4 separate regions of the Homo sapiens genome follow, and all the other regions are linked to region 1. Evidence: promoter capture Hi-C in 16 types of primary human blood cells and fetal thymus (Javierre and others, 2016). All regions are on one chromosome and are shown on one strand. Each heading gives the region's core, a stretch centred on a gene start or on the middle of the fragment in contact. The rest is flanking DNA. Distances are from core to core; before and after follow the strand shown. Region 1 holds the start of BRPF1 (bromodomain and PHD finger containing 1). Region 2 holds the start of GHRL (ghrelin and obestatin prepropeptide). Region 3 overlaps TATDN2 (TatD DNase domain containing 2). Region 4 overlaps RAD18 (RAD18 E3 ubiquitin protein ligase).

What was found. Contacts are between HindIII fragments. The CHiCAGO score rates a contact against its expected background, and 5 or more counts as called.
Region 2: the fragment with the promoter of GHRL here is called in contact with the fragment with the promoter of BRPF1 in region 1 in 6 of 17 cell types (monocytes, naive CD4 T cells, total CD8 T cells and 3 more); the score reaches 7.2 in monocytes.
Region 3: a fragment that was not itself captured here is called in contact with the fragment with the promoter of BRPF1 in region 1 in 9 of 17 cell types (monocytes, total CD8 T cells, naive CD4 T cells and 6 more); the score reaches 10.1 in monocytes.
Region 4: a fragment that was not itself captured here is called in contact with the fragment with the promoter of BRPF1 in region 1 in 1 of 17 cell types (neutrophils); the score reaches 5.0 in neutrophils.

The regions. Positions count from the first base shown.
Region 1 is chr3:9,730,464-9,734,536 of GRCh38, reverse strand. It overlaps BRPF1 (bromodomain and PHD finger containing 1), which reads right to left and starts at 2,802. Exons shown (of 14, transcript NM_001003694.2): 1 at 2,399-2,802; 2 at 1-406. The coding sequence starts at 396. RefSeq lists enhancers at 1,687-2,246, 2,807-3,366 and silencers at 2,324-2,453, 2,464-2,513, 2,984-3,343. The HindIII fragment of the contact is 5,381 bases long and covers 1-3,973 here.
Region 2 is chr3:10,291,284-10,295,070 of GRCh38, reverse strand. GHRL (ghrelin and obestatin prepropeptide) reads left to right here and starts at 2,124. Exons shown (of 6, transcript NM_016362.5): 1 at 2,124-2,229; 2 at 3,620-3,787. GHRLOS (ghrelin opposite strand/antisense RNA) reads right to left here. Exons shown (of 6, transcript NR_073568.1): 6 at 1,622-3,003. RefSeq lists enhancers at 1,932-2,226, 2,037-2,286, 2,297-2,366. The HindIII fragment of the contact is 7,186 bases long and covers 412-3,787 here.
Region 3 is chr3:10,262,027-10,266,083 of GRCh38, reverse strand. The region is part of intron 3 of TATDN2 (TatD DNase domain containing 2); the gene reads right to left. Among named protein-coding and RNA genes, the nearest start is that of TATDN2, 16 kb to the right of the region's middle. RefSeq lists a silencer at 1,960-2,149. The HindIII fragment of the contact is 1,822 bases long and covers 1,814-3,635 here.
Region 4 is chr3:8,949,405-8,953,383 of GRCh38, reverse strand. All of the region lies in intron 2 of RAD18 (RAD18 E3 ubiquitin protein ligase), which reads left to right. Among named protein-coding and RNA genes, the nearest start is that of RAD18, 12 kb to the left of the region's middle. The HindIII fragment of the contact is 5,111 bases long and covers 1-3,979 here.

The sequences.
Region 1 (4,073 bases), core at 1,553-4,052:
ATTCTCAGGGGCCTCCTCGGGGGCTTCCTCATCCTCTGACACCACATCCAGGTTGTCAAAGATGCTGATGCGGTGGACGCGGCCATGCAAGTCCACCTCCACCATGCGCTGGGCCTGTGCATAGCTCATCACCTCACGGCCTGGTGACTGTGAGACCTCTGAGGGGCTGGGTGACTGCTTGTTGGCTGGGCGTGACTGGCGCCCCTTTTTCTTGTGCTTGCGGAGTGGAGTTTGTTGTGGGGGTGGTGGGTTGTCGTGGTCATAGTGGTACAGGTGGTACTCAATACCACTGTAACTCTTGTAGACCTTTCGGCAGGTCTCCACCGGGCACTCGTATGGTGGCTTAGTCGCCCGCAAGTTGTGGCAGAAAGTCTTCACATCAAAGTCCACCCCCATGCTGTCACATCTAGAATACACAGATCAGTTAACATAAGGCTGGGGATGAGTTCCTGGCCATTTGCACCAGAGACCCCAGTCTTTCTAGCCCTCCCCCTCACTTGGAGTCACCAGATTCTGGCCAGCCTACCTCTACAGTGTCTCCAAATGCCATCTCCTCCACCATAGCCCATATCTGGGCCCTCATCACCTCTTGCCTGGTTATCCTGCCCTATGTCTCAACTTCTTTAGCCCAATCTCACATCATGTAGGAGAATGATCTTTCTACCAGGTAGTAATGATCATGACACTCTCTTCATTAAAAGCCTCCTGATGCTCCCAGTTCCTTCAAGATAATATTCCAAATTCTCTATGATGCCATTCAAAGAGCTCCTTTCACTGACTGGCCCTAGTCCTCCTTTCTTTTTACAAGTTACAGCTGTTTTTGTCTACACAGGGGATCTTGCCATTCCCTGAATGTTATAACCTCTCATTCCTGCAAAATGATCCCTATTTGGAATGCCCTCCATACTTTCTGATTGGTGGGCTCCTACTCATTCTTCAAAAAACCAGCTCAAATGTCACTTCTGACACAACTTCTCTGACTCTCCCATGGGGAGCTGTTTCCACAGCATTCCATTCTCACCTCTACCACAGCACTTGACATACTGAAAGTTGTCTCCCCCCTGGACTGGGAGCTGTGTAGCAAGGGTACCAGAGCCTATCCACCTCTGTATCCCCAGTACCTAGCATGCACTGGACATTCAGTTTTTGGCGAACGAATGAATGACCTGTTGAACGAATAGCTGAATGAGGGGATCACCAGACTGAGAGCTCAGATGGGATGAAGGCCATGTAGAAAGCTGAATGGGTGGGTGGCTAATGCTTTAGCGTTGGACTCCTGCAGAAATCACTGGATCACAGAAAGAATTCATTTACTTTTGAGGTCTTTATGGGGAGCCTGGCCCTGGTACTGGGTAGGAGATGTACTGTGAAACAAAGTGAAAACTGAGGTCATTTAGTCAGTGACAGCAGCTTGTATTACATTTGAGCTGTTCACCCACTCACACATCAACTGAGTGACTACCAAGTGCCAGGCCCTAAGGGTACAAACACGAACGCGACAATCTAGGCATGCTCAGCTCCATGCTGGTCCGCAGGGGCCCTCCCTCCCCGCTCCCCAACATTCCTGGGTGAGTGTAGACAGCAGATGGCACCAGGCCTCAGGAAGCCCAGCTTGGTCAGAGACTGCCCCAATTTCTCTCGGCCTAGTTGAGTTCAACCATTCAGCTAGGGGCTTGGCACCATCCCAGCCAGGCAGGGCTATCATGAGCTCCCTGACAAAATAACCCCTCTTGGCCTCTCCACCTGTGCCTTAACCAGGCAAGTGGGCTGCTCCAGCTCCACTGTCAACGGCTCCTGATTTTCACATCAGTAACGCTACACGTCCAACTGCAACTCTTCTATTTCCTACCTGCGGCTGTGTCTTTAAACATAAACCAACCGAAGCACAAACAAGCTCTCCTCTTTCCAAGCTGGGTCCCGGGTGAATGGTTCCCAAAGTAGCACAGCGAATCAGCAATCTCCCCTTGGAACCCGGCAGCAGAGGCACAGGCGAGGGAGACGAGAACTTAGACCAGAAAGCCCGTGGGGAGGGCCCAAGGAGAATGGCGGCTGCATCTGCCCCTGAAGCTCAGGGGGCTGGAGGAAGTAAGGGGCGGGGGCCGGAGGGATAGGGCTGGGCCCCGGCAGTGCCCGCAGCCCACTCTCCGGATGCGGCGGCGTTTCCCCTTTGTGGAAGTGTAACAAGTGAAACAAGGCTCCCCGCCTGCCACTAGCCCGGGCAGCCCCGAAAGATACACTGTTGCCCCAGGATGCCTGCTGGGAAGCAATGCACTGTCAGTTCTCCCAACTGGAGTTGCCAGAGAGGTTCCCGGGCCACGCGGCTCAGTGCGCGTCCCACGAACGTAGCCTACCCCTTCCCTGCCGGCCACTCCCGCCCTGGTCCCAGGCCCGCACTCACCGGCCACCTCGAGTCCGGGCTCATCGCCGGGGGCGCCCGCCGGGGCTCCGACCCCACTTGGGGAGGTCGGCGGGGAAAGTCGGGCCGGGAAGGGGGAGCCCCAACTCCGGAGACCGTAGACCTCGCCACCCCGGCCCCCTGCCGCCCCACGCTTTGGTCCCGGCTCCCCGGGATTCCTGAGCTGACCCCTGCCGCTCCTGGTCCCGCCGGCGCCCTGGGGTCTCAACTCCGTCGGCCGCCGCCCGTTTCGCGAGCCCCCAAGATGCCCGGTCTCGGGACCGGGCGCTGCTGGAACAATGGAGGCTCCCAGAGGCAGCGCGAGGACAGCGGCGGCGGAGACCGTGGCGGCAAAGGCTGTGGCAGCGGCGGCGGCAGCAGCGGCGGCGACGGCGTCTGCGCAGGGTAAACGTGGCGCCGCGGCGCTACTGAGCTGCACTTTCGCCACGGATCCCCGCCCGCCCGCTGAGGCTCGAAAGACCGTGCTCCGGGATTCAGAAAGGACCCTGGACACCCCACAGGGCTTCTCTAGCTCTCCCATCTTAGAGTGGAGTTTCTGGAGACTGAAGTCACCGTACTCGGGATCTGGGGTCGTCGGGCGGTTTGTGGCGAATCTGCAACCACGGACGGTGAGCGCGGGGCTGGGCGTGAGGAGCCCGCCCTTCTCCCCTCCCCCTCTGCCTCCTCCCTATCCGCTCCCTGCCTCCTGCTGGCGCCGCGGCTGCGGGAGGGACCTGGCCTTGGTCTCGGAGGAAGGCGGTGAGGCGGGGCCAGAGTCACGGGGCGGGGCTGGGGGCAGGGCCGGGAGCAAGAGGGATGCGGGCTGGAGCCTAAGGGACCGGTAGTTATGGGTAGGACCGGGGCGGGGCTGGAGACTAGACCGGTCTGTGGGGCGGGGCTTGTGGGAGGGGGCGGGGCTACCGCACAGCGGGGGCCTGTTAGAATAGCGGGGTAAAAAGTGGGGCTAAACAGAAGAAGAGTACTCGCGAGAGAAAGGGCGGAGCTTTGGATGAGCCTGGAAAGTGGAGCTGGACTAGAAATAAAGAACAAAGTTGGAAAAAGCGATGCGACGCTGAAGGGAGCAGGCGGGGCTTGGTAAGGCAGGGGCGGAGCTGTGGGGAAAGGGCAGGACCGATTAGGGATAACGGGGCGTGACTGAAGGAAAGGGAAGAAACTTGGGAAAAGTAAAGGAGAGGTGCTAGAGAAAAGGTATGGGTCTGAGAGAAGGGGCTGGTTTGGGGCCGGTGGGTGTGAAAGGGCTTGTCTGGTAAAGCGGTGGGAAATCTGTGGGTTGGCAGGGATGTGCTGCGGGTTGCTGATTGGAACATGGTGCCAAAACAGCTGATTTAATGTGAGTGGGTCACCTCCTAGCAATGTGAACGTGGGCAAGTTCAGTTCTTTAAGTTCCTTATTTGTAAAACAGAGCTCGAAAACTCTGTTGTTAGTTCTTGAGGGTTTCAGAGAACTTGCATGGCAGGGGGAGACATCCTTAAACAATACTTCTCCAGTTTTGTCATCAAAGAGGAGCGTGAAAGGTCTTCCAGGGTTCTGGGACAAAGCCCAAAGCATCTGAAAGCTTCTATCTTCTTAATGCAAACTTTGCATTTGACCCAATAAAATGTATGTTTTCTAAAAACCATCCCAATAAAATCGACATGCCAGGAAGAGGTTTGCTGAT
Region 2 (3,787 bases), core at 875-3,374, 560 kb before region 1:
GTGAAGACAAAATGATACCATTCAAAACCCTCTAAAAGTGGTTATGACAAGAGAAAGAAAAGGAAGAACAGATGGGACAATGGAAAAATTGGTGACTTACAAATAGTCTGGAGATTAACAGTAATGTGCTAACACTGGTGTTTTAATTTTGATAAATGTACTACGGTTATATAAGATATTCACGAGTGGAAACTGAATTGGGTTATTCAGAGAGAAAGATTTCATCTTCCATATGTTTATATTTTCTGCTGGAAGCAAGCATTTATAATCAAAATTTACCTGGGATACTTGGTAATTTATAATCAAAATTACCTGAGATACTTGAAACAGATTCTAAAGCCCCCACGCCAGAGCTACTGGATCAGAATCCAAGGATGGAGTCTTATAAACGTGCATAAAACTTATGAAGCTTTCCTCATGAATCCAACACAACCCAACACAGGTCTGTATCTGGAAATTGAGACGAGATGGCCCTCCAAGCCACGTCCCACCCTGAGGTCGTCCTATGGCTCTTAGCGGTCCATAGACTAAAAGGCTGGATGATCAGCAACGCTGAGACAACAGTTTCAGTACAGCAGTGGGGATGAGAGGCAAGGTCAAGTTTTGAGGGGCCAGGACACAGCAAAGAAGAGGACACAAGGAAAGGGGAAGGAAATGGAGATGGTAACACGAGGGGAGGGTGGGATCGGTGCACAACAGACGTTTTCAGGATTAGGAACCTGGGTGTATTTTAAGGCAGAAAGCAGAAGCCACTGGAGGGGAACAGAAGACACGAGAGAGGCAAAGTGTTAGAGCTTTGGCCCCAAGATGGCCGGAGGCTAGGGAAGCCCCAGTGAGAGAGGCAGAGCTTGGCGAAGAGGAGGGATGAGAGAGCATGGCTAAGGTCAGGGAGGATTTAAGAGCGATGGCCGCCTATCTAGAATGAGCCGCATGTGGCTGCTGAGCATTTGAAACATGGCTAGTCCAAATTGAAATGCACTGTAAGAACACACACTGGATTTCAAAGACTACACATCTGTAATCCCAGCACTTTGGGAGGCAAAGTCAGGCAGATCACTTAAGCCAGGAGTTCAAGACCAGCCTAGGCAACATGTCAAGACTCTGTCTCTACAAAAAATACAAAAATTAACTGGGTGTGGTGGTGTGACCTGTAGTCCCAGCTACTTGGGAGCCTGAGGTGGGAGGATCATCTTAGTCCAGGGAGGTGGAGGCTGCAGTGAGCCATGATAGTGCCACTGCACTCCAGCCTGGGTGACAGAGCAAGAACCTGTCTCAAAAAAATATATATGTATATTCATTTAGACATATGCTGTTGCACACTTAGACTATAGTATGGTATCAGCATACGTTTTATATTTACTGGGAAACCAACAAAATTCGTGTGACTTGCTTCATTGTGGTCTGGGACCAAAGCTGTAATGCCTCCAAGGTATGCCTGTATATTTCTATTGCAAAATGTGAATCTCGAAATTATAAAAGCTACAACTAGGACAAAAAGCAACCCCACCAAATAGCCCTATATCAAAGAATAAAATCTCTTTCTAGAACCCCAGAATTTGCCTCTTTCAGACTGAAGTTTAGCCAAATCTATGAAAAAAGAGCTTGCTAAACCAACTAATTATCAGTACAAATAAAATTATAATGAAAAGTCTATGAAGATAATTTGTTCTCAGATGCCCTTCACATATAGCAATTAATTCACAAATGATGAGTCACTCATGTGCCTTCATGAAGGCAGGCCCTCAAGAGACCCGCAACAGAAAGGAAAGCCACCGACTGGAGAGAACCTGCTTCCTGAGCCCCACCAAGTTCCAAAAAGGAGAATGGGGCTTCGTCCTCACCCTCAAGGAGTTGCCAAACTGGGCTTGGTTATTATTCACACTTGAAAAGAATGAGGAAGGTCAGCCAGTCCCCTCCAGGTCGCTCGGGCTTCCTCCAAGCTCCTCTTGGTTCAAATTTGCTGTGTCCTCCAGCCGGCATCTCTCCTCTGTTCCGTAACTGACAGGGCAGCGAGGTAGCTTCCGGATGACTCCTCCCGCCATGGTTCTTCCGTCCATCAGCTCTTCCTTCCTCAACTCTGTGGTATGTGGCTAGGGGAGTTTCCAACTCCCAGGGGACATTTCAGTTCCCCAAAGATAACACAGCTTTGCACAGTGGATGTTTACTTGCTGGTGGTCTTATCTAAGATCAACATTGGCAGCTGTGCCCGGAGAGGCCTCCAGGGTCCAGGTAAGTGGAGGCTTCATGTCTCAGGAGGTACCTGGTCACCACAGTTAGGATTTTTCTGTTTGGGGATTTTTTTTTTTATGGGTTGGTGGCTCTGAAAAAGCTGCAAGTCTTCTCTGAGGACTACAGACCTCTCTCCACCCTCTCCACATTCAGCCTCTCTGGGCTCCAGGGCCAAAAGATGTCTACACTCAGGTGGCAGACAGGCCTGTGAAGACCTCCTGGTGACATGCTCATATGTTGCTGGGACTAAAGGTGGGATTTTAGCCACCACAGTGGGTTGGTGGTGAGATGTTTACCAACAGGAGGTACTTTGTCCCTCATGTCCACTTAAAGATTCAGTCCAACCCGGCCTGTGCTTCTGCTGTCCCAAGAGACTCTAGAAAGCTCCAATCCTCCCTGAGGTTGATCTTTTAAGTCAGGGTAGGTGGTCATTCGGCAATCAACTGCTCTACTGCCTCAATGTCCTCCTCACTGGACGTCCTGCCCCAATTCCATCCTGTTCAGCGCAGACTGATTTTCCTGGAACACAATGTTCATTATGGAGCCAGATGGCATATCAGAAAGAGCACTGTATTAGGAGTCAAGAGATCCATGGGGGAATCCCAGCATTGCCCCTGATGGCTGTATAGCTTTGGGGAAAGTGAGGCCCTCTTGGCATTCAGTTTTTCTTCCAGCGAAATAAAGGATTCAGCCTCCCAGAGCTTTAAAGTCTTTCCAACTCTTTCATTCATTCTATGGTCTCTCTCTCCTCAAGAATCCTCAGTGGCTGCCCTCCTGCAAAAAAAGCCCAAACTTCTTGGGCTAGCAGTTCCCAAGGCATCCATCACCTGGCCCCAAACCACCTTCTTATGTTTTTGTTATGACCCCATCGCCACCCTCCCCCAAGCCACCCAGCCTTCTCCATGCTGCCCTGATGTACTCTACCCACGCCTTCACCTCCCCTCTGCTTGCCGCAAAGCCCTCCCTCCAAAGCCCTGCCCCGAGTTCACCACAGGCCTCTTTCCTGGAGCCTTTGCTAACATCCCTGCCGCAAGCCCCAGCCTAAGGTGAGCTCCTCTCCTGAACTGCTAGAACTTCTCTGCAGACAACTCATTGGCCCTTAGGGGTTCCTGCCTGGGCACCCAGTTGGATGAAGCACTCCAGAAAGGAAGAAATTCCTGGGGCCGAGGGAAATGAGGCAGTGGCCTTGGCCTATGCTGGGAAGTCCTATGGGCCTGGTATGAAACCATTGTCATCTGCAGGGTGTTTCACAGGTTAGAAGCCACTTTCCCCCCATCGCCTCATTTCACCCTCAAAGACTCTGGGTAAGGGGAATTATTTGTGGTCGGCGTAAGGCCAGTCAATGAGAGAGGAGCCAGGCCCGTGCTAAGCGTAGATCTTCCACCTCCAGGTCCAATGCACTTCCCTCTCAGAAGAGGCATCCGCTAAAATAGGGACCAAAGCTGCTGGAGGGAGGCAAGGCAAGCTGCTATGTGAAAAAACGCCAGGCCAGGCAGTCATGTCACACCTGGCAGAAATGACTGAAGCATAGCCACTGGCTGAAGTTATCCCCACACCC
Region 3 (4,057 bases), core at 1,475-3,974, 530 kb before region 1:
TGGATGCTATTCACAGATAACAGAGCATAGAAAACAGATGGGTTAATGATTATCAGCCAAGAAGATCAGATGGCCAAAACCTAAGCCTTCAGTGAGGAAAAACCCAGAACCAGACTACAGGACCCCAGAAAGACTCAGGAATTGGAGGTGCCAGACTTCCAAAGTGAGGGTGAAGCCGCAGATGAAAATAGGAATTAGCTGAAGTCTGTCAAGATCTCCAGACCCCTGCTCCCACCCTGTGCAGATGGCCTGCCCTTTCCCCACCCAGCAAAGGACAAAAGTTGATGCTTGGAAAAGTTAAACCAAGGGGACCACAGAAAAATAAAGGTGCAATGAGCTATGACCATGCCACTGCACTCCAACCTGGATGACAAAAACTTTTTTTTTTTTTTTTTTTTTTTTGAGACGGAGTCTTGCTCTGTTGCCCAGGCTGGAGTGCAGTGGTGCAATCTCAGCTCACTGCAAGCTCCACCTCTCAGGTTCACGCCATTATCCTGCCTCAGCCTCCCCAGCACCTGGGACTACAGGTGCACGCCACCATACCTGGCTAATTTTTTTGGATTTTTAGTAGAGACGGGGTTTCACCGTGTTAGCCAGGATGGTCTCGATCTCCTGACTTCATGATCCACCTGCCTCAGCCTCCCAAAGTGCTGGGATTACAGGCATGAGCCCCACGCCCAGCTAAAATTTTTAATTTTTAAAGTTCTGGCCGGGCGTGGTAGCTCATGCCTGTAATCCTAGCACTTTGGGAGGCCGAGGCAGGTGGATCACCTGAGGTCAGGAGTTCAAGACCAGCCTGACCAGCATGGTGAAATCCTGTCTCTGCTAAACATACAAAAATTAGCCAGGCATGGTGGTCCATGCCTGTAATCCCAGCTGCTCAGGAGGCTGAAACAGGAGAATTGCTTGAACCCAGGAGGCAGAGGTGGCAGTGAGCTGAGATCACACCACTGTATTTCAGCCTGGGCCACAGAGTGAGACTCTGTCTCAAAAAGACAAAAAAGAAAAAAAAATTGGCAGCAATAAAAAAAAAAAAAAACCACGCACAGGAAAAAAAAAAAAAAGACCAAAAAAAAAAAATCAACATAAACGTTAGAAGATAAACTTGAGCCAGGCGCGGTGGCTCACGCCTGTAATCCCAGCACTTTGGGAGGCCGAGGCGGATAGATCACCTGAGGTCAGGAGTTCGAGACCAGCCTGGCCAAAATGAAACCCCGTCCCTTCTAAAAATACAAAAATTAGACAGGCATGGTGGCATGCGCCTATAGTCCCAGCAATTCAGGGGTCTGAGGCGGGAGAATCGCTTGAACCTGGGAGGCAGGGGTTGCAGTGAACCAAGACCAAGCCATTGCACTCCAGCCTGGGTGGCAGAGTGAGACTCTATCTCAAAAAAAAAAAAAGAAGATAAAGTTGAAGAAACCATCCAGAAAAATTTTTTAAAAAGGATTCACTGGGAAGAAAAGAAAATTGGAATTTCCATCCGAAAGACCAAGCATAAAATAGATGGTCCAGAAAAAGAAGAAACAGACAAGAAATCAAATAATCAAGAAATTTTCCCAGAACTTTTCTAGGCTAAGGATGTACTGAACAAATTCGACTTATTTTACTCTTTCCTGAAACCTCACTAAAACTAAAGAATCTAAAAACCAAACAAAAAACAAATAAAACCCCTCTACAATAACAAAAACACCAGAACAGGAAGAACAAGAGACTACAGTGATCACGCACTGGAGGCTAGAAAGCAGATGGCCAAATAACACCTCACTGGCAGACCAAGAGAAGGCTGAGACCTAAGCTAGGCACCAGGAAAGCTTAGAACAGAGCAGGCACTCGCGGTACTGGGCACCTTGGGAACTGGAGGAACTGGAGTTACAGAAGAACATTAAAAGGAGGAGGACAGGGTGAAATCTGGTTTCCAATGAGTTAGATCCCAGATTCCCTCCTCATACTCAGAGAAGGTGAGTTGTTTGAAGACAGTAAAACAAGAGGATCTCTAGAATAAGGCCTGGTCAGCTCAGTGGAGGGCACTGGTACTGCACCAAAAAGACAAAGATTAAGTGAATGCTGACGCCGCCCCCGCAGCCGCCCCTTTCGCTACCCAGCTCCCAGCCACCTTTCCTCCTAAGCAGGCTGAAAAACACTCCTCTGGGCAAGGTGACCAGTCTCGAGGCTTTCCTAAAAGCAGTGACATGGCAAGGGGAAGAGGGTTATATTCTCCCGATCATCCCAAAGCAAAGCTCAAAGTCTTTACGCTCAGAGCTTCCAAACAGCTTTTTAATCCTCCCATTCTTGATCATAAACAGACAACCAAAGATTACCAGACATGTGAAGGCAGCCTCTAACACAGAAGAGATCAAAAGAAACGGAAAGAAGCAACTTAAAGAAAACTAAAACCAAGCCAAAAAACTACCATGAACTCCCTAAAAGAGATAACAGAAGATGAAACAAGAACAGAGATGTTATTAAAAAACAAAAGAGCTCTTGGATAATAAAAAGCATGACAGTAGAAAAGTAAAACTAAATAAACAGCTGGGTTGGAAGATAAAGAAAAGGAAATATCCTACAAAGTAAAGCAAGAAATTGGCTAGAAACAAGGGAGAAAGGCAATAAAATTACAGGACCAGTCCTGAAAAATCCAACATCCAAATAAGAGAAAGAAGGTAGAGAAGCTAGAGAGAGAAAGAGAGAAGAAAAATACGGAAAGAAAACATCAGCGAAGTACAGTAATTCACGAACTTTTCCCACAGCTAAAGTACAAGGGTTTCTAGATTGAAAGGGAATGTCCCATGCTAAGCAAAGTAGACACCACCACCATGAAATTTCAGAGCCCTGAGATCAAAATATATTCTACAAGATTCCACAGAGGGAAAAAAAAAAAAAATACAGGTTGGGCACGGTGGCTCACACCTGTAATCCCAGCACTTTGGGAGGCTGAGCCGGGCGGATCATGAGGTCAGGAGTTCGACACCAGCCTCACCAAAATGGTGAAACCCCATCTCTACTAAAAATACAAAAATTAGCCGGGTGTGGTGGCACATGCCTGTAATCCCAGCTACTCACAAGGCTGAGGCAGGAGAATCGCTTGAACCTGGGAGGTGAAGATTGCAGTGAGCTGAGATCACGCCACTGGACTCCAACCTGGGTGACAGAGCAAAACTCTGTCTCAAAGCAAAAGAAAATAAAAAATAAAAAATCATATACCAAGGTTCAGGAACCAGCATAGCTTCAGACATCAAGAAAACCAGAAGAGGCCAGGCGAAGTGGCTTACACCTGTAATCTCAGTACTTTGGGAAGCCTAGGCAGGTGGATCACCTCAGGTCAGAAGTTTGAGACCAGCCTGGCCAACATGATGAAACTCTGTCTCTACCAAAAATACAAAATTAGCCAGGTGTGGTGGCGTGTGCCTGTAATCCCAGCTACTCGGGAGGCTGAGACAGGAGAATCACTTGAACCCAGGAAGTGGAGGCTGCAGTGAGCCAAGATCACACCAGTGCACTCCAGCCTGGGCAAGACAGAACGAGACTCCACCTCAAAAAAAAAAAAAAAAAAAAAAAAGCCCAGAAGAAAAGGAGCAATGCCTTCAAAATCCCAAACAAAACAATTTCCAACCTGGAATTCCAAAACCAACCAAGCTTGTAATCAAGGTTAAAGGTAAAATAAAGGCAATCTCAGACACATGTTTACCAAAAAAAGTTTCTCCATGTACCCTTTCTCAAGAAGCTACTAGAAAAAGTATTCCACCAAAATGTGAGAGTAAACCAAGGAAGAAGAACATGAGAAGACACAGAGTATAGGTAGCAGAAGACTCAATCCGGGAGAAATGTGAAGGAGGCTCCAGAGAGACAGCTGCCAGCTGGCCTGACGGCAGGCAGTCCAGACCAGAGCAGGACAACAGAGGGCTGAGGACGTATACCTCCAAGAGAGAAAAAAAAGAAACAGATTCCTTATTTTGACAGTATTGAGAAGGATTTTACAGCTCTCGCAGTTTGGGGATTAATTAGTGAAAGGTACCAGGAAAACCAAAGGAAAAACAAAGTAATGATGAACTTTAAGGAA
Region 4 (3,979 bases), core at 891-3,390, 780 kb after region 1:
AAGAAGAGGAAAGATATACAAGATTATGCAGAAGAGAAAGCAGTAGCCTTATTATAAATACTAATTTAAAAGGTACATGTGACCTTATTAATTAAATGTTATTTATTGATGTATACATAATATATATAATGTATACTTATATAGGTACAATTACATATATAATAATGTATACACTATATTGTATAAGTATACATTATATAACTATACATAGTACATATTTATATAAGTATACATTATAGTATAAATGTACAGTATATATTTATTATAAACAAATGTTTATAGATATAGTCAGTCCCTGACTTACCATGATTTGACTTAGGATTTTTCAACTTTACGATGGTGTGAAAGCGATACACATTCAGTAGAAACCATACTTTGAATTTTGAATTTTGATCTTTTCCCAGGCTAGAGATAGGTATATTAAATACATTTTGGCTTATGATATTTTCAATTTATGATGGGTTTATCGGGATGTAATCCCATGTTAAGTCAAGGAGCATCTGTAATTTTTAATAATTAATATATTAAGAGTCTGGACTCTGGTGCTTTCCTTTGCCACATATTAGTTCCATTATCTTTGGCAAGTTGGCTGAGCCCTGTGCTTCATTTTTCTTCTTGTCAAATGTGACTAACATTGGTACCAACCTCAGGGTTGCTGTGAGGATCGAAAGAGTTAATACATGTAAAGTGCTTAGAACAGAGCACATACTAAGTGCAGTGTTTATTTGAACCACATGAAATTGCCAATATTTGTCCATTTTTGACTTAACCAAAAATGTCAGTTTCATATAATTCAACTTAATAGTGACAACTTATTAATTTTTTAAAAATTGTTGCCATTGTTGAATCAATATTACATATTAAGAATGTGATTTACTGACCAAAATCCATTGAATCACTATGACTGGGGATACAGCCTGGGAAACTAAGTTAAAACCAGCATAAATCTCCCTAGGTGACTGAGCTGAGCAGCTAGGTTTTAGGATTTCTTGACTTACAGTATTGCTCAGGAGACTTCTTATAGTATAAAGAGAACAGCATTGATAATTAAGAGAATGAGTCTGGACAGGAATTTTTGCCTCAGGATGATTCATACCTTGAGTCTCATCCATATCTGATTTAGGTGATATTTAGATGAGACTTTAGATTTTAGACTTTAGAGTTGGTACTGGAATAAGTTAAGACTTTTGGGGCTGTTGAGATGGGATGGATGTATTTTGCATTTGAGAAGAACATGAATTTGGGAGGTTAAAGGTGGAATGCCTGGAGTGAATTTTATCCCCCCTAAAGTCCTATGTCGAAGCCCCAACCCCAATGTGTTGGTGTTTGAAGATGAGGCCTTTGGGAGATAATTAGGTTTAAATTAGGTCCTGACAGTGGAGCCCTAGTGATGGGATTAGTGTCCGTATGAGAAGAGATACCGGAGCTTATGGTCACTCCTCACCCCCTCATGGGAGGACGCAGTGAGCAGGTGGTTGTCTATAGGCCAGAAAGAGAGCTTTCAGCATAAACTTACCATATTGGCACCTTGATCTTGGACTTTTAGCCTCCAGAACCATGAGAAAACAATTTCTGTTGTTTAACCTGCCCAGTCTGTGGTATTTTGTTATGGCAGCTCAAGCTAAGAAATGCTTTCCTGTAGTCTTTTGTACCATTGCTGTCATTCATTTCACTTATGCATAAGCATTCATAAGCGTGCATTTTTATACGCATATACATAATAAGCATCTATAATTGAATACTTCGTTATTATTTTTGTACAAAGTGTTATCTGTTAAATTAACAAGAAAAAGTTTTTATTACAGTTTCACATATTCCTTCTCCAGTACTCTTCCTTTCTTTACGTAGATTGGAGTTTCTGACCTAAATTATTTTCCTCCTCTCTGAAGAATTTCTTTTAGCATTTCTTGCAAGGGAAGTCTACTGAAAACAGATTCCTTCAATTTGTGTTTGTCTGAGAAAGTCCTTATTTCTCTTTCACTTTTGAGGGATAATTTCTCAGGATATAGTTTTAGGTTGGTGATGATTTTCTCTCAACACTAAATATTTCGGTGCACTCTCTGTGGTTTGTGAGAAGTCAGGTGTCATTCTTTGCTTCTCTGTAGGTAAGGCCCCCACTACAGCTTCTTTCAATATTTTTTCGTTATCTTTGATTTTATGTAGTTTCAATATGATTGGCTGAGGTGTCTATTTGTTTTGTTTTTGCATTTATCCTGGTTAGTGTTCTCCGATCTTCCAGGATAAGTAGTTTAGTGTTTAACATTAATTTGGAGAAATTCTTAGCCATTATTATTTCTTCTGCTCCTTTCATTCTTCCCTTTCTGGTATTCCCATTATGTGTATGTTACATCTTTTGTAGTCATCCTGCAGTTCTTGGTTATTCTATTCCATTTTTCCTGTCTTTTTTTCTCTTTGCTTTTCAGTTTTGGAGGTTTCCATTGACATGTCCTAAAGCTCAGAGATTCCTCAGCCGTGTTCAATCTATTAATGAACCTATCAAAGGCATTCTGTTATAGCGGTTCTTTTTATCGCTAGCATTCCTTTTTGATTCTTCCTTAGAATTTCCACCTCTCTGCTTATGTTCCCATCTGTTCTTGCATGTTGTCTACTTTTTCCATTAGAGCCCTTAGCATATAATTTTTAAAAATTGCTGGTCCGATAATTTCAACATTTCTGGTATATCTGACTTTGGTTCTGATGCTTGCTCAGTTTCTTCAAACTGTGTGTTTTTCCTTGTGGTTTTTTTGTTAATAACTGGAAATGATGTCCTGGGTAAAAGGAACTGCAGTAAATAGGCCTTTAGGTATGGGCAGAGGGGACACATTCTATAGTCCTATGATTAGGTCTTTTAGCGAACTTTGCCCCTGGACTGTGAATGTTACTAACGCTCCTCAGTTTTCCCCTCCTTAGATGGGACAGGATGGCTAGAGGGCTAGAGTTGTGTATTTCCTTTTTCCAGAGTCAGCTGGGCTCTGATAAAACTCCAGTAGATTAGGCTCTGTAAAATAGTTTCTTCTGAGGGAGGGCTTTGTTGAGAACAGACTACTCTGGGCCAGTGCAGTGGCTCAGACCTGTAATCCCAGCCCTCTGGGAGGCCGAGGTGGGCGGTCACCTATGGTCAGGAGTTTGAGACCAGCCTGGCCAATATGGCGAAACCCCATCTCTACTAAAAATACAAAAATTAGCTGGGTGTGGTGTGGTGGCGCACACCTGTAATCCCAGCTACTCGGGAGGCTGAGGCGGGAGAATCACTTGAACCCAGGAGGCGGAGGTTGCATTGAGCCGAGATTGCGCCACTGTACTCCAGCCTGGGTGACAGAATTAGACTCCATCTTGAAGGGGAAAAAACAAAACAAAACAAAAAAAACAGACTACTCTGGCTTATTTAGAAATGGTTACTTTTACCCTCCTACTCCTGGAAGGACTGGGGGGTTTTTCTCCAATATTCACTGTGAGAACTTTGAAGAACTCCTGGAACTAAAACTCACAGAAGTGTGAGGACATCCTCTCCATGCCTGCAATGACAGGGTTCCCTGGAGTTTTTGACTCTCAGACTTGCCCACACTGAGCCGCCAGCAATTCGTCAATTACAGCTCAGGTTCTCCCACCCCAGCACTGGTTCCAGCACAGGTTTCTCCTCTGGTTCCCATGGAGGTTTCTGTTTGTGGGTTTCTGTTCCAGTAAGTTGTGATTGTCTGTATTACCCCCCTCTCTCTCTCCAGTTCGGGGAGAGCAGTTTGCCCTGTGACCCTGCTTTTCTGCTGGATCTACGAAAAGTTGTTGGTTTTTCAGTTTGTTCAGCTTTTTACTTGTTAGGACAGAGTGGTGACTTCCAAGCCCCTTACATGCTGAATCGGTCCCCTGTATTCATCTTTGCTTCCTAAAAGAACTCAACCTGTTGTCTGTTTTATCCTTTTCATAATATGTTTCTTTGTTTTTCCTCCTGGGGTGCTCTTACTTAGGCTGGCAAGACTTGCTT